2 separate regions of the Homo sapiens genome follow, and region 2 is linked to region 1. Evidence: promoter capture Hi-C in 16 types of primary human blood cells and fetal thymus (Javierre and others, 2016). All regions are on one chromosome and are shown on one strand. The core of a region is centred on a gene start or on the middle of the fragment in contact, and the rest is flanking DNA. Distances in the headings are between cores, read along the strand shown. Region 1 holds the start of CORO6 (coronin 6). Region 2 overlaps SSH2 (slingshot protein phosphatase 2).

Region 1 (4,721 bases), core at 1,196-3,695:
TCTGCATTGTCTGGGGTGAGTCACTGGCTTTTTCAGGCCTCTTCCTGACCCCGCCACCTGTGGAGCCTACCCTAACAAGGTGTAGGGGCCAGAATCCAGGTCAAGGTCATACCTTGGGGGTTGGGGGAGAGTCATCCTTGGGATGTGGATGGTCAAGGGGCTTAAGGTTATGAAGCTAACGTGGTAGTCATTGCCTGGTCCCCATCCTGAGGGTAGGGAGGGCTCTGGCTTTATGTGTCATGTCCCCCTTCCTTTCCGTTCCCTTTCTTTCTACTTCACTGCAAGTGTCCTTGGAGGTAACCAGGGACTCTTTGGATAGAGCCTGACCCTGTCCTCAGTTTGCTGCTCTGGGATGTGACTTAATCAAATGGTCATCTTGGGCTAGGGAGGAGGTTCTCCACACCCAAAACATGAGGGGATGCGGCATTAGGAGAGGCAGTGATGGAATCTGGCCAGGCTTGGCTGTGCTGTGTCCCAACCATCTCCATCACCCGGCTCCCCTCCTGGTCCCTGCTGGGAATGGGGTGGTGCATGGAGAGGTGGGAGGGCTAGGGAGTGGGAGTAAGCCACCCTGATGTTAGGGTGGGGTGGGGTGGCCTCCCCTCTGGTCCTTGAGGGCTTGGGGAATAGGGAGGAGCCAATCCACACAGATGCTTCTCCTGACTATGGAATGGAACTAGGTGAGAACAAAGGCTCAGGAGTTCCCAGGGGCCCCAGCTAGTGTCCTCCCACTTGCTTCCTTTCCCTGATCCCTCACCTTGGCCAGAGGCAGGACGATGAAGGCACCCCCGCCTCCAGCCTCCACAATAATGGCCAGGAATTTGGGGTTGACGGCACAGAAGGAGCTGTCCCATGTGACCTTGGACACACGGATGTCCTCGTAGGCCTGGTCGGCCTTTGCTGCCTGCCCAAACACATGGCGGAACTTGCTTTGCCGAACCACACGTCTGCTCATAGCTGCAGGCAGAGAGGTAGGATCTCAGTGCCCAGAAATGCCTTTGGTCCTTAGTCCTGTGAGCTGCGGGAGGGAGGAGGAGTGGAGGGGTGGCTGATGAGAAGGGTTATGTGGTCAGGAGTCAGGTATAAATCCATATAGTGTCTGGTCCTAGAAGCAGGGAGCTTTCTTCAAGGTGGTCAAAGTATGGGAAAGTTATTTTGCTGTGTAAAATGCTGTTTAATGTAAGTGGCTAGGATTTGGGGCCTGAATTCTCCACAGAGACCCAGGCTGAGGGGATTGTGGAGCCTAACAGACTGAAAGCTTTCTGGACGTTGGAATGTTTTTGGGAGGAGCCTCAATGCCACACTGCCTGCACCCCCCGCCCCCACCACCGCCAGCCTTGATGAGCATCTCTTCACGGACGTGGTTGTAGCTCCCAGAGGCACCCTGTCCAGAAGCAGAAGACTTGACCATTGGATCTTGGCTTAAAGCCAGGTATGGGGCCAAGACTGCAGCCACCACAGGATACCGAACTCGCATCTCTGGAATAGTTCAGGCAGATGGGGTTTTGCCTTTTCCTAAAATTTTGCCAAGGGGGAAGTTCCTCCTGTCCACCAATCTGAGTCCTTTCTGCTACTGTTTTCATCCCATGCCTTGTGGGGGGACGGGTGGCAGCACAGAGTGAGGTGGATCCCTCTTCTCCCACTCCTTTCTGCACTGGCTTCTCCAGGAAGCCCTGATCATGGTCTTCTGGCTTTTGCCTACCATAGGCTTGTCCGGTTTCTCCTCTGGGTCCTCTGCCCTGGTTGGGCCTTCTTCCTAGTGAACTCTTCTAGGGGTGGGGTCTTCAACCCCATCCTCCACCCCTGCCCCCGCCACGGCCAAGCCAGATTTGCAGGGGTGGGGAGGGTGAGGTGCCTTTTCTCCAGCTAGGGTCTCCCTAGAGGACACACTGAGCACTCCCAAAGCCCCAGCCAGTGGCTCCTGCCCCACCCCAGCCCCAGCATCCGTGTGCCCTTCAAGGCGCGTCTGCGGCCCCGAGCCTGAGGCCCGGCCTCCCTGCACCCTTCTTCAGCCTGCTGCCCTGACACTGCGTTCTTGCGAGACGAGGTGTCTGCGCCCTCCGGGAGCGCTGGCTGCTGTCCGGCCAAATATAGACACCACGTCCTCCCCGCCCGAAACCGAATTTGGCGGCGCGGGGGGAGGAGGCGCAGACCTCTGCCCCTCAGGGACCCCGCCCGCTCCGCTGGCTGCGGTGACGGCCGGGTGTGGGGGGCTGGGTACCTGGTCCTGAGCGGGCTGCGGGGCGCTCACGCTGCGAATCCTCTGCGGAAGGGGCCCGAGTGCGTAGGGGGCCGAGGAAGGCTTCAGGGCGAAGGAGCCACCTCTCCGGGTGTCTGTAGTATCTGGGACCCGGGTGTCCAGCTCCGCACTCTGGCCGATCCTGCGGCTCTCTAGAGCCCGGCGCCGCTGCAGCCCCAGCTGCCGCTGCCATCAACCTAAGAGGGCGGGGCTAGCATAGGGGCGGGGCCAGAGCCCAAGTTGCCCCGCCCCCTCCAGCGGCGGGAAAGTCGAGCGACCCCGACTCCCCTCCCAGCTTCCGCCGGCCTCGGAGAACCATCGAAAATAAATGTGCAGCTGTGTGCTAGGTGCGCACGCTGCTTCCCTCCCTCCATGACTCCCGGGTAGGCTGGGGAGGCTCGGGTTCGCAGACCTAGAGCAGGACGCTTGGAGAGGGAACGGGCGAGGGGGCGTGCGCCCCTAGAGCGGGCAGCCGAGGGAGACCAGGTGCCTCCACCCGCATTCCAGCCTCAATCGCGCTCCCAATTTAGCTGTCCCGATCGGCCGGGACTGCGGGACTGCACTTCCAGGCCTCCCTGGGGGAAAGAGGCCCTAGAGAATGAGGACCCAGGCTGATCCTGATGTAGGGCAAGTGAGAGGGCACCCGACACAGGGTTGTGAATGTTAGTTATTGTTATGAATGGCAATAGCGATCATTTGAGAAACCTAAAATGCTGGCTGTGTGCTAGGCATTTCACCCCATTAGATGAGATTCCATGGAGCAGGGCAGGAAGCAGCTGAAAGAACAAGGGGAGGACCGAGTGTAAAGTGAACCCACCTTGACACTCCCTCCCCTCCCAGATGCAGGGGGAAGAGGCTAGCACCGGTCTCTAGTCACATTTTAGGGGTCAGAGAAGCCAACTCAGAGGCCAGACTCCTAATGTTTTCTGGGCCTTGTTTGAATTGGCGCCCGACTGTGTTCCAGGTAAGCTTCCCCCGTCTCCCCCAATATTCACAGAACTGAATGTTGACCGAGGTCAAGGAGATTAAAGATAACCTGATCAAAATACAGCCAGTGAAGACCAGCCAGTCCCGTAGCTCCAGTCTACCCAGTGTCTGCACATTGCCTGGATTTCTTCCCTTGGATCATAAGGGCATCTGGGGCCAGTTATTACTTCCCACCCTCCAGGGCACACCTGGGAGTGAGTGAATGGAACACAGCCTTCTGAAGGGCAGGAACCAGCACTGGGGAGGAAAGGGAGGGAAGGTGGTAGAAACCATGAAGGGCCCACGAGGCTCCTTTGTTTCTCAGGAAGAGTCCAGGTGGCTTGTAGGGACAGAATCAAATCAAGAGTCAGTGGCTTGTAGGGGAACAGAATAAAAAACTGTTACGAGTGCTCCAGAAATAACTCCTGGCGTAGGGGTGCTGGGGCAGGGTATGAGGGTATGTGAGTCATCTCTCTTTTACCTAAAGATTCCAGGCACATGATTAGGAGGAAAATACCTGAGTGACTCAGTTGCTCCTTTACAACAATAACCCATGCTTATGTGCTAGGCACTGGCACTAAGGGCTTTATACGTATTAATTTCATACTCTTAACAATCCTCTAGGCTGGTCGCGGGTGGCTAACGCCTGTAATCCCAGCACTTTGGGAGGCTGAGGCAGGTGGATCACCTGAGGTCAGGAGTTCGAGACCAGCCTGGCCAACATGGCAAAACCCCATCTCTACTAAAAATACAAAAATTTGCCAGGTGTGGTGATGCACACCTGTAATCCCAGCTACTCAGGAGGCTGAGACACGAGAATTGCTTGAACCTAGGAGGCAGAGGTTGCAGTGAGCTGAGATCATGCCACTGCCCTCCAGCCTGGGTGACAGAATGAGACTCTGTCTCAAATAAAACACACGCACAAAAAACCAAAAAACAATCCTCTAAGGTGGGTACTGTTGTTATCCCTATTTAACAGTTGAGGAAATGGAGCCACAAAGAGGTTAGGTGGCTTACCCATCACAACCTCAACTGGTAGTTGATGTAGCTATGATTCTTACCCACGTGGTCTGGCATCTGGTTCTTGCTTTTCAGCAGCATGCATTTCTGTCTCTCCCTGAAGGACAGTGCCACTTTATCTCACAAGTGCTGAGCTAAAACGTAACTGAGAGTTTATACTGTGTGGCACAGAGGAAAGGATGCCTGGAATGAATTAAAAAACTGGTTCCAGTCCTGGCTCAATCGCCATATTTTTACAGCTCTCTGAACAGGATTGGGTCAGATTCTTTCCAACTCTGCACCACTCCTTAGCAGAGTAGGGATTTTATGTGCTGCCTCCTCTGAAGTGGCATCTCCCCTACCCCCACCCTCCTTCTCTTTAAAGAGAACAGGAGACTCCCTTCTAGAGGGAAGCGCTTGGGACTAGGAAGCAGGAATCCTTCAATGCGTGCTCCCTTCAGTTCCATCATCTAGGAAGAGCAGTGCTTTCTGGGTACAGGGATTCAGATATTTGCTT
Region 2 (4,721 bases), core at 1,852-4,351, 130 kb after region 1:
ACCATAAAGCCACTAGCAGATAGTTTAATGATTTCTGTTCTTGTGTTGCCTGTGGGGATTTCACATTGTGCTCACAGTCACTGGTACTGATTCAATAACAATGGCCTTGCAAAATTGGCAACCTTCCTAAATAAACTATGTAAAATCTGCAAACACTGGTTACTGTGCTATGTGCCTAGTAGATACTCCGGATGCTCTGCCCATATGATATACCCAAAGTATGCTCAAAGTAATTTTCTTTTCGTTTTTCTTTTTTTTTTTTTGAAACAGAGTCTTTTTCTGTCACCTAGGCTGGAGTGCAGTGGCAGGATCTCAGCTCACTGCAACCTCTGCCTCCTGGGTTCAAGCGATTCTCATGCTTCAGCCTCCCGAGTAGCGGGGATTACAGGCGCCCATCACCACACCCGGCTAATTTTTGTATTTTTAGTAGAGACGGGGTTTCACCATGTTGGCCAGGCTGGTCTTGAACTCCTGAACTCAAGTGACCCGCCTGCCTCGGCCTCTGAAAGTGCTGGGATTACAGGCGTGAGCCACCGCACCCAGCTACAATGATACCCTTCTGTTCTCTGAATTTCTAAAGCACAAATTGTACTGTTCATCTGACACTTACCATGCAATAAATTGTGCTCTTATTTATCCCTTCATTGACGTCTTATTTCCTCAACAAACTGAGTATCCTGTCTTCAGGAACCATGTCTTGTACTTCTTTTTTATCTCTTACTTCTTACACAGAATAGATGCAATTTAGGATAATGATGGAAATGACAGAATGTTTACCATCATGCTAGTGTGCCACTCTAATTATTTCTCCTATAATTTGGCTCATATCAAAAGAGCAAAATGAGCAAAAATTTAAGCTACCATATCGTATTTAATCCTCATAGGTATTATAAGTTCCATTTTACTGATGAGGAAAAAGGTTTAGGGTGATTATATAATATGTTCAAAGTCACACAGATAATAAATGATGAACTCTGGAGCTCAGGTCCATTTCATTTCAAACACTGCACTATTACTGTTAGGTACAATAACAAATGGCAAGTAGTTATTCTGAATATGTGACCCAATAAATCTTTTAAGAGTTTTTAAAGAGAATGTTTAAGGAACGGGATACTTTAAGAATTAAGTGTGAGATTTTATTGAGGAGGGAAGGGCATCACAGAGGTAGGATTAACACAATGATAGATATCAAGTCTGTTCAAAGGGACTTCAAAGAGGTTCAGTTTTATTTGTTGTTTGAATCCATTTATTTCACTCATCTCTTAGGAAGAGAGATTTACATTGAGAATTCACATCCTGCCACAGAAACCCCAACTTTTCAAACTAAAGCTCCCCCTAAAAATAGATGAGGCCAGGTGCAATGTCTCATGCCTGTAATCCTAGCACTTTGGGAGGCTGAGGTAGGCAGATCACCTGAGGTCAGGAGTTCAACACCAGCTTTGCCAACATAGCGAAACTCCGCCTCTACTAAAAAAAAACAAAAATTAGCCGGGTGTGGTGGTGGACGCCTGTAATCCCAGCTACTAGGGAGGCTGAGGCAGGAGAATCCCTTGAACCCGGGAGGCGGAGGTTGCAGTGAGCCAAGATCATACCACTGCACTCCAGCCTGGGCGACAGAGTGAGACTCTGTCTCAAAAAAAAAAAAAAAAAAAAAAAAAGGAAAAAAGAGAGATGATACAATTATGGGAAATTAAAACTTTTGATGTTCATGAGAACTGTGTATATTAACATTAAGAGAAAGAGTAACTTAAAAGGGACGTGGGTCAGAGGAGAGTCCTGAAGAAATGGCATCTCCCAAGAGCTCTGTTGTAAGTGATATTTATTTAAAATCAGAGGAAAAAAACTCTCATTCAATTTAGCCCTCATGGAGACTAACTGGTTTTTATGACACAAAATTCAGAGAACAGCAGAGACAAAAATGCACCAATAAGATGCCAAGCTCATAAACCTGACCAGCTTTTTGCTGGGGTGATGAAGTATGCTTAAAGTGTTGCTTAAGTTGCAAACAGATAAAGCCATATGTAGCATAAACTTTTCCGCAGTCACTACAGAAGACAATCAATATAAAGTCCACAATTAGAACGCTCAGGACTTGAAATATCCTGTTATGGATCACGAATATCCATGTAAATTTTGATGGATAAATATTAAGTACAGATGATAAAAGTAACAACCATAACTGGAATTTTTATTGTTATTTCTTGTGAATAATTATCTCACGTGATATCCAAAATGTCCTGAAATGAGGCAGGTACCATCCTCAAACAAACATATACAACAATTTAAATAGTTTAGTTCATTACCAAAAAAAATCAAATAATTCTACTTCTTCTACCCTGGAAACCTAAATTGTTACAACTTTTAAAGAAAGCTTATAATTGGCTAATACTGAGGCTTCTCTTTATTTAGGAGTGATTCAAACCTCTGGATTTTGTAGCTTTACCAAGTGTAACTAAGCCAAATCCCTCGAATTACTAAAAGAGGGGTTATACCCCTCTAAAAATAGATTAATGCAGAAAACACAAGTTGTTAAATTCACACAACATGCAAAAAGGGTGAGCCCAGATTTGCCCTTTGGTGTGCAACAAGAACAATCTATTTATAAATTACTGGCTACACCCTTTCCAAATTACAGGAACACCTAAAAAGGCCTTGATGTTCTTAGCATATTTCTTTAAGGTAAACTTAATTATGTTAGTTATACAGCAACCATCCTGTATCATTCAACGATGCAAAGCTAACTCTAACCCTAACTAAAAATAGGATACTGATTTTTTCTTTCCACCTTAGAAATTGTAAAGTATGTGAAAGATTCAGAAATTGTGTGATAACATCTACATCACTGTTCTTTAGCCCCAAGGCAGTTTAACATATGGTAGATTAAGAGGACTCCCATTTACTGGAAGGACCCAAGAGCAGATGGGAGCAAGATGATCTACAGCAGTTTCAGCCTCTCTATTATTGCGAGACCCAACAGCTCTTGGAAACAGAGACTGACAACATCTTTAGTTATTTGGCTTTGGGCAGTGTTTATCAGTGTTAAGTCTAGAGACACTTTCCAATTTCAGGAGTAAATATAGGTGAGCACAAAGGCAAATAGTAGTAGTTTAGAAAAAAAAAGAAATCCATTCTAGACTTATCAAAAAGAAATCTTGACTTGAGCACATCACTACCTTACCATTCCTGTTCATCTTCATTGTGCAGATTTACTTCTCAGTTAACTTGGCTAAGCATGATTCCAAGAAAGCCAAAGTTGAGAGCTCTTTTTTTATACCCCTCAGTTATAGGTTAATTACTGCTCTGCTGATTTTAAACAATCACAAGGGTGGATAAAGCCACAGAAAGTTACCACCAATAATAAAAACACAAATGCATCTTTATACTTTGACAGGGGATCATTAACTGTTCTTTCACATTTGAAGGCCATAACACCCAGAAGATTCACTAGATGTAAACCAATTTGATCACTTTCTTAAAAATACTAAATTTTAAGGCTATATTCTCTAAGGATCAAAAATAACCACAAAAAGTCAGTATTAATTTAAAATCAAAGAGGCATCTCGTACCTCTCTTAAATATTAATATTAGTCTCTTTATCCACCAAAAAGAGAAAAAAAAAGCCCTTAAACCATAAATGAATGCCTGGTTTCAATTACTCAATTATCAATTATTCAGTTATGCTTGCCCATTTCTGTAGAAGACAAGATCTAGATTTTAAGAGCATCACAGATGATAATTATATTTATTCAATGCAAACATGGAAATTTAAAAATGTGAGTGGTAAAAAAAATTCATAAAATAAAAAATACTTGGAATAAAACTTCTTGGTTCTAAGCTTTAAAATACAGATAATCCTACTACAGAGCTGTTTCAGAGCACAGAAAAAAATGAAAAACTACCCAAATCATTCTGTAAATCAGACATAAGCTGGACGAAGACAGCAAAGATTCAATAAATATTTAGATCCCTAAATGCAAAACCTTAAATATTTGTAAACCAAGCCTAGCAATATGTTAAATGAATAACGCAAAAAGGGTGTAGTTCAGTTATGTAAGGATGATTCAACTTCAATAATTCAATGTGTCATTACATTAGCAGTAAAGGGGAAAATATTATTCCGTAGATATAAAAAAGCAGTCAGTAAAATTCAACTATACCTAACTGAAAAATCTTTGTAAATTAGCAATAGTAAGAAATGGCCTCAGCTTGATAAATGATCTGTGCCAGAACCTACACCACACAGTATACTCATTTACAACACATAAGAAGCCTTCTTTTCACACAAGCCCACTAGTATCGCACTACTTAACATTAGAAGGCCTAACCAAAGCAATGAGAGTTATAAATACAGTCATGCATCACTTAATGACAGGAATACATTCTGAGAAATTCATCATTAGGCAAGTTTATCATTGCGTGAACATCATAGAGTATACTTACACAAACCTAGATGGTACAGCCTACTACACACCTTGGCTGGCTATATGGGATAACCATATAGGTGGAAAACCTGTACAGCATGTTACTATACTGAATACTGTAGGCCAACTGTAACATAATGTTAAGTATTTGTATCTCTAAACATATCTACGCATAGAAAAGGCACAGTAAAAATGTGGTATAGAAGATAAAAAGTGGTACACCTGTAAGGGGCACTTACAATCAATGGAGCTTGCAGGACTGGAAGTTGCTCTGGGTGAGTCAGTGAGGGAGTGGCGAGT

Evidence for each region. Contacts are between HindIII fragments. The CHiCAGO score rates a contact against its expected background, and 5 or more counts as called.
Region 2: a contact is called between a fragment that was not itself captured here and the fragment with the promoter of CORO6 in region 1, in 4 of 17 cell types (M1 macrophages, endothelial precursors, activated CD4 T cells and 1 more). The highest score is 5.9, in M1 macrophages.

The regions. Positions count from the first base shown.
Region 1 is chr17:29,620,467-29,625,187 of GRCh38, forward strand. It overlaps CORO6 (coronin 6), which reads right to left and starts at 2,446. Exons shown (of 11, transcript NM_032854.4): 1 at 2,222-2,446; 2 at 758-1,018. The coding sequence starts at 955. RefSeq lists enhancers at 1-139, 3,047-4,246 and a silencer at 2,110-2,259. The HindIII fragment of the contact is 1,950 bases long and covers 1,257-3,206 here.
Region 2 is chr17:29,744,915-29,749,635 of GRCh38, forward strand. The region is part of intron 3 of SSH2 (slingshot protein phosphatase 2); the gene reads right to left. Among named protein-coding and RNA genes, the nearest start is that of SSH2-AS1, 110 kb to the left of the region's middle. The HindIII fragment of the contact is 1,464 bases long and covers 2,370-3,833 here.